2 separate regions of the Homo sapiens genome follow, and region 2 is linked to region 1. The links are contacts of gene promoters, found by promoter capture Hi-C in human tissues and cell types (Jung and others, 2019). All regions are on one chromosome and are shown on one strand. Each heading gives the region's core, a stretch centred on a gene start or on the middle of the fragment in contact. The rest is flanking DNA. Distances are from core to core; before and after follow the strand shown.

Region 1 (4,551 bases), core at 1,363-3,862:
CATCTTGCATCTAAACTTTGATGAAAAAGAAAAAATCCTCCTTTTACTGTGATAACAAAAAGGGGTGAAAAGGGAAAGATGACACATGTATTTTTATGTATTCAATAAAAATCCTTTCCCAACTCAGGTGCCTGGGTGATGAAGGGCCTCATTATGAGTGAAATAGACAACTTATAAAGAATAAAATAAATTTAAATGTGGTCTTTGACGGTGTCTGCAGATAGGAATATTGTTATTTGGGGGATGAACGCTCGTTTTGCCGAGGAGGATCTGGCTGAGTTGTCGGAGGGATGGGCCAGAAACGCTAGTAAATTATACATGGTGCAGAATCCACTGTCAGGTAGCTGCAGTCGATGACTGAATATCCCGTGCGAGCCATGCTGCCATGCGCAAAAAGACACTGAAGGCCATCACATCCTGACTGAAAAGGAAAGTCGCACTGCCCCCTTGCAGTTTTAGCGCATAAGAAACAAAACCAGGATGCGGAAGAAAATTAAAATGCAGCTTTGCCCTTCTCCGTGGTCCTTCAAAGGCCAAATCATAAGAGGTCGTTTTGAAGCACCAGGGAACGACAGGCCTTCAAGGGACTTCTTATCTAGGATCAGGCCACGGGTGACGTTTGGGTCCCCACGCCTGCGGTTCCTGGCGGATCTACAAGGCCTGAGACCCAGAAGACTCATGGGCGCTCCCGCCTCTTCCGCCCTAAAGAGCAAGCCGAGGGAAGACTTGGCCTGGGACCTCAAAGCGTGGGACGGTTTCCAAAACCTTGAGGAATTCTCTCTCCAAGCCTGTTCTGCGAGTTCCCAGGCTCCCTCCCCAGCCATGCCAGCCTCCACTCACCACTGACTGCGTCTTTGAAGTGGGTTTTCTCCGAGGAGTCGTAGACAAACTGCACTTTGCTCAGCCTCCAAGTCGCCTCAGGTCCCTTGGACATGTTGTGGCTTTCCTGTTGAGCCGGGGAGGTGCGCTTCAATCGTCCCCGCAGCGTCTGGGTTCTTAAACCTAGGGGCCGCCACTTCCCACACCCACGCGGAGCCTGCGGCCCCTCTGCCCGCTGGGCTCGGAGTTACCTTTACAAAGAGCATTTTGAGTGCATATGCGCGATCCACCCAGAACACTTGCAGCTCCGACTGGCTGTGGCCACAGCGGCCCTTCACCTCAGCTCCCCGGGTCAATGCGATATCGGCCTGTTCTGTGATCAGCTGGGAACACAGACGCCCCGCGCCCCCTCAGCTCGCCCGGCCCCGGGGCGGGGGCTGTAAAGGGCGGCGCGTCCAAACTCTGGGTTGCACGCTTGGGCGCTCCTTTGCGCGCGCGCATCCCAGGTTCCGGGAACATGCGGTTAGATGCTCTACGTGCAGCCCCGATAGGGAAGCGGAGAGAAGGGGGTTTACTTTCAAAGCAGGCAGGGGAACAGAAGGCATTACAAGCTGGAATCCCCATGCAGCATTCGGGAGCAGCCTGCCGGGGTGTGGGAAAGAAGGCGGGCAACCCAGGTCTTCGAAGAGCCTTGAGGAAGGGTGCCCTTCGCCCTGGAGCCCTAGGAGCAAGCTGAGGGGGGGGAAAGATTCCTTACATCTACGTAGTTGCTGGCCCACACATCATAAGGTACAATAAATTTGGCTGCAAACTCTGCCATGAGACACGTCGTCCCATTTTCCCGCACCACAAATATATCTTTTTCAGGGTTAGTGGAAAGGCCTGAGAGATTTTCCACTTCTTGTTCTGCCATGATTTGAGCCATTGTATCTGCGGAACAAACAAAACAATTCCATCAGTTCAGGGCTCAGCCCACGCGTCTCGGGCGCTAGGGTGGGGAGACAGTGCTCTGCAGGCTTTGGAGTGACAAAGTTCTCTGCCAGCAGCTGTGCGCTCTACGAGCCGTTTCTCTAACCCGGGTCTAACAAGCCTCATTCCTTCGCTGTTAATTTATAATGAAAATACAGTTAAAAAAATTAAAAATCCTGACTTTGTTTGTAATATAGCTGGCTGTTTTCTACATCTTGGGATTTTAAAGTAAATATTTCTTGCCAATGCTCTGACCTCACGAAGCTGGCCTGTCTAGGCTCTGTCTGGAATATGCCACAGAGGTGTATGGCTCTCAGGGGAATTCCCTGCCACCGGCGAGGAAGGCCCTCCCTCCTCCCCTAAAAGAAAAAAAGAAAAAACACCGCAAAACATTAAGGGCCATATTTTTTATCTCAAGCTAATTGACTTTACTTTGCCGGCTCTGTTCTCTGCAAAGAGTGCCCGTCCTCTCTCCCAGTCGCCAAATCGCTACTCACGGAACAACATCAGGAGAACTCGAAGTCTGTCGATGCTGGGGACCCCTCTTCCTTGGAGATCCATACTCGCAGTGCCCCGAATGAGGCCGGCTGTGCTGCTGCAGAGGCCGCCAGAGAGGGAATCCCTCAAAGTCGCCGCTGGAGTGGGCCGGGGTGAGCGAGAGGCGGGGGACAGAGAAGGGGGAGGGAGGGAGCGCGTATTCTGTGAGCGCCTAGCTAGGACTCGGTGTCGAGCGCGGCACCGACAGCTGCTGGCAGAGCAAATCGGCTCACTGCGGAGGAAAGGACCGCACGGCGGTCCACGGCTGCGAGTGCTGAAAGCAATCCGATTGTGTGGCAGGAGTGGCTGTGGCTTGGCTTGTGCGGAGGGCCAATGAGATCTGGGGGGACTAAACTTCTCCCTGGGTCTGTTTCCTGTTCTGCAACTGCATCCGCAAAGATGAGTCTGTTCTGAGAAACTTAATACCACCCTCAGCCTTATTAAATCTCCTTACCAGGTACAGTTATTAAGTGGTGTAGATACCTTATCACTGGAGTACTGTCTTCTGAAAACGCATCTGGTTCCCGAAAGAAAACGGTGGAGCAAAAATTGTTGCTGATTCGGGGGAGGAGGGCTATGCAGGAATAGAGAAGGGAAAATGCTATGGCAACAGTTTCCTGAATTTGGAGACATCCCCTTCTCTCCCCTGCTCTCAATGAGCTCATGGGTTTAAAGTTAAATTGACGCCTCCTCGAACGAGGCCATCAGACAATGCAGTAGCTCCATGTGGGCTTATTTTCCTGTGAATTTTGCTCCCGGGTGCATGAGGACTCTGAACTCTGGGGTCACCTACCCTCCCGCATTATACTGTGACCACTCTGCCAAAAAGGGATGCAAGCAAATCAGAAGTTTTTGAGAGTTATCTAGTGTCTCCTAGGACAGAAATTTTAGAATTATGCCCTAAGTAATGTCACATAGTTATGTAAGAAAAACACACACTGATATTACTCTAAAGCCTGTAGTGGAACAGAAGAACAAATACTACTGGGCTAATTCCTGTATTTACATATTTGGTAGCTTGCTTATTTTTTATTTTTGCTCTGTAAATCAGAATACAGCTTTCAAAAATACACATGCAGTCCTCATCAATTGTAGTGATGTCCAAATATTTTATTCCTTAGAAGATATTTCATAATGCAAATAAATGTTGCATCAGTAATATAATGTTATAAAACAATGTCATATTAAAGGGAAAATTGCAAAGTATTTCACCTGCATTATCTAATTTGATTCTCCCCAATCTTAGAGGGTAGGCAAGGAAAGATATGAGTTACTGTGGTTTTACATACCCCAAAACTGAGGCTCAAATAAATTAAATGACCTTCCCAAATGTCACATGGTCAGTTAGAATTAAAATACAAAAATCACATGCTTTAACTCTGTGAGATTATCTTCATTTCTCCTTATATAATATTTTTACTCCATATTTTGACTTCCATAAAAATCTATATTCAATATCAAATAATAATCTGAAATCTGAAATCTCTATCATTAATTCACATTCTTCAAATTTATAGAATGCTGTTTTAAGTATAATCACATTCTGACATATCTGCCACAAAGTATCTATATAATGTTTTTGGCTTTCAAACATATTCCTATATCAATCATTAGATCACTAGCAATTCAAAGTATAAAGTAATATTAAAATTGACATTATATTTTGACATCTTGACTTTTATGTTTGTAGTTCAGTATTTCATCCAAACATTTCTCAAGAACTTTACAAAGATGATTATATATAGAAGAATTGATGCAAATTTTACAGAACTTAACAGAAATGATTTTATACAGAAGATTGATAAAACGTCAGTTCTCATCAGTTGAAAGTGGAAGAGATAACATTTGTATGTGTTACATTTTTTCATGTTAGCAATTATTATTAAACACTTATTTTCCTGTAGTACTGTAAAACTGGAAAACAATGAGACATGTAATAAAGTATTTATTCTCTCTCTCTCTCTCTCTCTCCAGTATTTTATGAGGACAGAAATGAGTAGATTTCAGTCCAGGATTCACTACTTATTATTTTTGTGACCTTCTGAAGATTTTATTTGTTCTCATCTGAAAAATTGGGAAAATAACTCAGGGGATGGCTAGTTAAACCAAATGGGCCAATGAGTATAAATAAACAAAGTACAAATAGATCCATAAACATTAACCGAATACTTACTACTTCCAGTATGCTTGATGCTTTGAAAACCAAAAGATATTTATCATTACACA
Region 2 (4,551 bases), core at 1,118-3,617, 410 kb before region 1:
GAGATAAGAATCTGAGTGTAGTAATTTATTTCAGAGGGCAATTCCACTAAACAGTGTTATGGAAGTGGAGAAGTAAGACAAGGAAGGGAAACACTGATAAAATATACATTATCAATAAAAGGTACATTTGTAGACATCTGGAGCTCATTTCCACTGGGGGCTCTGTGAGACAGTGTAGGACATAGCTCAGGGCTGTCCCAAGCAAGCAGGAAGGAGGCTGGGGGATCTATCTACCAACAACTCCCAGCTTTCACCAGCTGAGGGCTCTTCCTAGGGGCATTAACTCTATGGCATTTCCAGCCTGTTCACTGCATTGGCAACCATCTTCCAAGTACAGAAAGTCCTCAGGTAAAGGGTATAATTGCTAGCAGAGGAGATCTGAAGGGCAATAAAAATATCTGCTCATGTCCCCATTTGTTCCTTACCCCTTTTTCTCTACACACGGTCTTGGCTGTTGCATCTCAACAATGCTCATGTCTTCCATTACCTTCCATATGCTGAAAACTTCCAAATCTTTGGCCCAGATTTTCTTCCTATGATCTGACTTCTTATATTTATCTGTTTACATCTGCTTCTGGGGGAGCTTATGGCATCTCAAAATCACCAAATATCCTCCTCCTCTAACTCCAACTTTGGCTATTGGTGACCCTCCTCTGGTTCCTGCCCTTCCCCCAACCCTGGCTAATGGAACTGTGACTCCCTTGGTCTCTTGGGCCTCAGAGTCCCCGCTGCTCACCAGCACTTCTTAAGGATAATCAGTTATAAGACCTGTCCATTCTAATTCCTCAAAAGCTCTCTAATCCATCTCTTCCACCACCACATTTATTTTCTTAATTCAGGTTCTTATCATCTCTCACCCTGACCACTGTGGTATTCTCCATAACTGGACCTCCTCCTACCTGTAATTTAAACTTCATCCAGTCCAGGCCCTAAGCAGTGGCAAAAGTGACTTCATTCTAAGTTACAAGAATTCAATTGTTGCAAATCAGGTCACATCACTCTCCTCTTTTCATCCTTTGAGTGTTGCAGTCAGTTTTAAACTCTGTTTTATTTGATCAATTACAGAAAGATGGCCTTTTCTCTTTTGCTAGTTTCTAGAGAAAGTGGTAAACAATAGACTTAACCCTTTCTTAAATGTTTGGGAGATCATACTTATAAAACCGGTTGGATCTGGGGGCATTTCTGAAGAGGAGGCCTTTTCTTGAATTCTTACTGGCCCATTTTAGTTCTCTCTAATTTGTGGCAGTTTACATTTTTCTAAGAATTTTTTCACACCATCTATATATTCAAATTTAGAGACAGTAATTTACAGTATTCTTTTTTATTTTAAATTTCTGTTGCAGATATATATATGTAGTCTATCCTTTTTAGTTTATGGATTTGTTTATTTGCAAATTTCCCCTTCTCCTCTTCAGTCTCCCCAGAAACCTGTCCTTTTTATTAAGCATTTCAAAGAGCTAGTTTAATTATTGCTACTTGCCATTATTTCCATTTTTCACAATTTCATAAATTTCTGCTATGACCTTTATTTCTATGTCCTTGCTTATTGGATGTGCTTTCCTGCTTCTTTTCCATGTTCTTTATTTGAATGCTTGGCTCACTTTTTTTCTGACTCTTTTTTGGTTTCTTAATACATGTTTTAAACTACACATTTTCTTCTATGTTCTACTTTTAGGTCCCCAGAATTTGACATGTGGTATTTCATTCATTCCTAAATATTTAATTCAGGTGTTTTGTAGAGTATGGAAGTAGGAGTGAGCAACCTAACCTCTTAAATTCCTGAATACTATCAAAGGAGGAATCTCTCTTGAGGAAGATTCCAGGAGAACAAAGCAAAGAGATCACTAGAAACACTGAAAGCTAAAATATCAATTTCTTTCATGTGTTTAAATATAAGCAATGTTTTGGTCTCTCAACCTTCATCCCTAGAAAAGGGAAGAAAAGGACCTTTGAATGCATGAAAATGATAGATGGGGGATTCTAATGCATTTCACTTTAACTGGTCTGTTTTCTAGGATTAGCGTTTGTTCTGGATACAAATCAGAGGTAAAATTTTGTGAGACTTCTTTCACATTTGTTGTTATTAAATAAGAGAAATAAAACCTTTTTATCAAATAATATCATGAGCTATTTATCTTGTTACAGTAACCTTATCTGGTTTCATCTTACAAATGTCACATTTTTTTCTCGCAATTAAAATAATTAAATTATATACTTGCTGTTAGACCAATTTGTTTTTTAGCAGTTTATGCTTTTCTTGTAAAGTAAATATATAGAGAAAGTTCATTTATGGGATCTAATAAAATTTAAGAAATTCTTTCTAATTTTTAATACAAGTCTTACTTCATTAATCTCAAAAACAGAACACCAGAATACAACACGCACACAAACACAAATATACTCTCATACATACACACAAGTCCAGATGTGTAAATAAGTATGTATTTCAAAGAAATAACATGTTTTCTGTTATATTTTGTTGTTTATAAATAATTCATAATTTTAGCTACATTGAATAAAAATTACAAATTCAGTAATGGAAAACAGTATATTGATTTATCATTTTCATTTTATAACATCATAATTTCTTTTCCTCATGTGTTTGGTAATATGCCCCTCAAGATACATTCTGTAAGATAGATATTTTCATATGTATCATAACATAGCTGTTTGTATTGACTTTTGTTTTTTTTTGAGACGGAGTCTCACTCTGTCACTGGGCTGGAGTGCAATGGTACGATCTCGGCTCACTGCAACCTCCGCCTCCCTGGTTCAAGTGATTTTCCTGCCTCGGCCTCCCAAGTAGCTAGGACTATAGGTGTGCACCACCGCACCCAGCTAATTTTTGTATTTTTAGTAGAGATGGGGTTTCACCATGTTGGCCAGGATGATCTCGATCTCTTGACCTCGTGATCCACTCACTTTGGCCTCCCAAAGTGCTTGGGATTACAGGCGTGAGCCACTGCACCCAGCCATCTTTTTGTATTGATAAATAATGTCCCATTTTTGCTGACAGAGAAGATGGGTTTGGCTAATGGGTTTTAAAATTAGGCCTAGCCTTGCCAATTACGTCATTCAGGGGTCTTTTTAACTCATTGATCTATACCTCTGAGATTTTCATGAAAAAAATGTATTGAAGGCCTGTGATATCTTAAGACATTTTAAAAGCATTTAATAAAATGTTTTTTGCAAAGTACAATACAAAGTACAGAAATAAGCAATATTTTGATTTTCCAAAGCTTTTCAGAGTATATCTCTGGTTAAAAGAGTAATAAACTTTGTAAATAGTAGTTGATTCACCTTTTTGCTGTTTCTCCCAGATAATGAGAACTTGAACTACTCTAGAGATTGGGATAGAAATCCTTTTACAAGTCTGGGGATTTCCATTTATGAGCTTTCAGCAAAATTGACGGAGGGCTTCATAAAGCTCATAGCTGATAGAATTATTAAAAGAGTTGTATGGCCGGGTGCGGTGGCTCACGCCTGTAATCCCAGCACTTTGGGAGGCCGAGAAGGGCGGATCATGAGGTCAGGAGATTGAGACCATCCTGGCTAACATGGTGAAACCCCATCTCTACTAAAAACACAAAAAATTAGCCGGGCGTGGTGGCGGGCGCCTGTAGTCCCAGCTACTCAGGAGGCTGAGGCAGGAGAATGGCGTGAACCCAGGAGGCAGAGCTTGCAGTGAGCCGAGATTGAGCCACTGCACTCCAGCCTGGGCAACAGAGTAAGGCTCTGTCTCAGAAAAAAAGAGAAAAAAAAAAGAGTTGTATGATGGGCAACAATGTGATTTTGGCATATATTTGGAAAGTTCAAGCAATTGAATGCCATTGCTGTATTAAAATCCCTTTTAATCTTATGTACTTGTTTATAAGAACAAGCTTTCACAGTAACTATATATATATATATATATACACACACACACATATGATAATACAAATAGAGTCCATGATCAGACCTATGTTCTTTTAGCAATAAATAAATATTTATGGGCCGAGTGAGATGGCTCACATTTGTAATCCCAGCACTTTGGGAGGCCGAGGTGGGCAGATTTCTTTAGCCCAGGATTTCACGACGAGCCTCGGCAATGCGGCAAACTTTGTCTCTAAAAAAAAAAAAAAAGAAAAAGAAAATTAACTGGCATGGTGTTGGACACCTGTAGTCCCAGCATCTCAGGAGGCTAAAGTGGAAGGATTTCTTGAGCCCAGGAGGTGGAGGAGGCTGCAGTGAGCTGTGATCACACCATTGTACTCTAGCCTGGGTAACAGAATGAGACCCTGTCTCAAAAAAAGAAAAAAAAAAAGAAAGAATTGTGACCTTCATAGACATCCACAAATATATGAATTGGGAAAAAGTCCCATTTATCTCATTAAGAGATGCATTTGTGATAAAATTTTGCTTTTCTGTTTAATATTTATTTATCAAAATTTGTAATAGCTTTATAATGCTTTTATCAATTGTGAATTACTAATAATTACAATTTTATTTCAATATATATTAAAATATTTCAAATTTTATGATCATCAACAAAAAATTTCAATCTGTTATATA

The links. Contacts are between HindIII fragments. The study calls those that stand out against the background at their distance.
Region 2: a contact is called between a fragment that was not itself captured here and the fragment with the promoter of LAMP5 in region 1, in 1 of the 25 tissues and cell types used here (H1 embryonic stem cells).

What each region holds. Positions count from the first base shown.
Region 1 is chr20:9,512,651-9,517,201 of GRCh38, reverse strand. It overlaps LAMP5 (lysosomal associated membrane protein family member 5), which reads right to left and starts at 2,612. Exons shown (of 6, transcript NM_012261.4): 1 at 2,286-2,612; 2 at 1,577-1,749; 3 at 1,071-1,202; 4 at 841-946. The coding sequence starts at 2,349. It overlaps LAMP5-AS1 (LAMP5 antisense RNA 1), which reads left to right and starts at 2,204. Exons shown (of 5, transcript NR_109957.1): 1 at 2,204-2,438. RefSeq lists an enhancer at 1,093-1,677. The HindIII fragment of the contact is 16,129 bases long and covers 1-4,551 here.
Region 2 is chr20:9,922,354-9,926,904 of GRCh38, reverse strand. No RefSeq gene overlaps it. Among named protein-coding and RNA genes, the nearest start is that of PARAL1, 62 kb to the left of the region's middle. The HindIII fragment of the contact is 5,925 bases long and covers 1-4,551 here.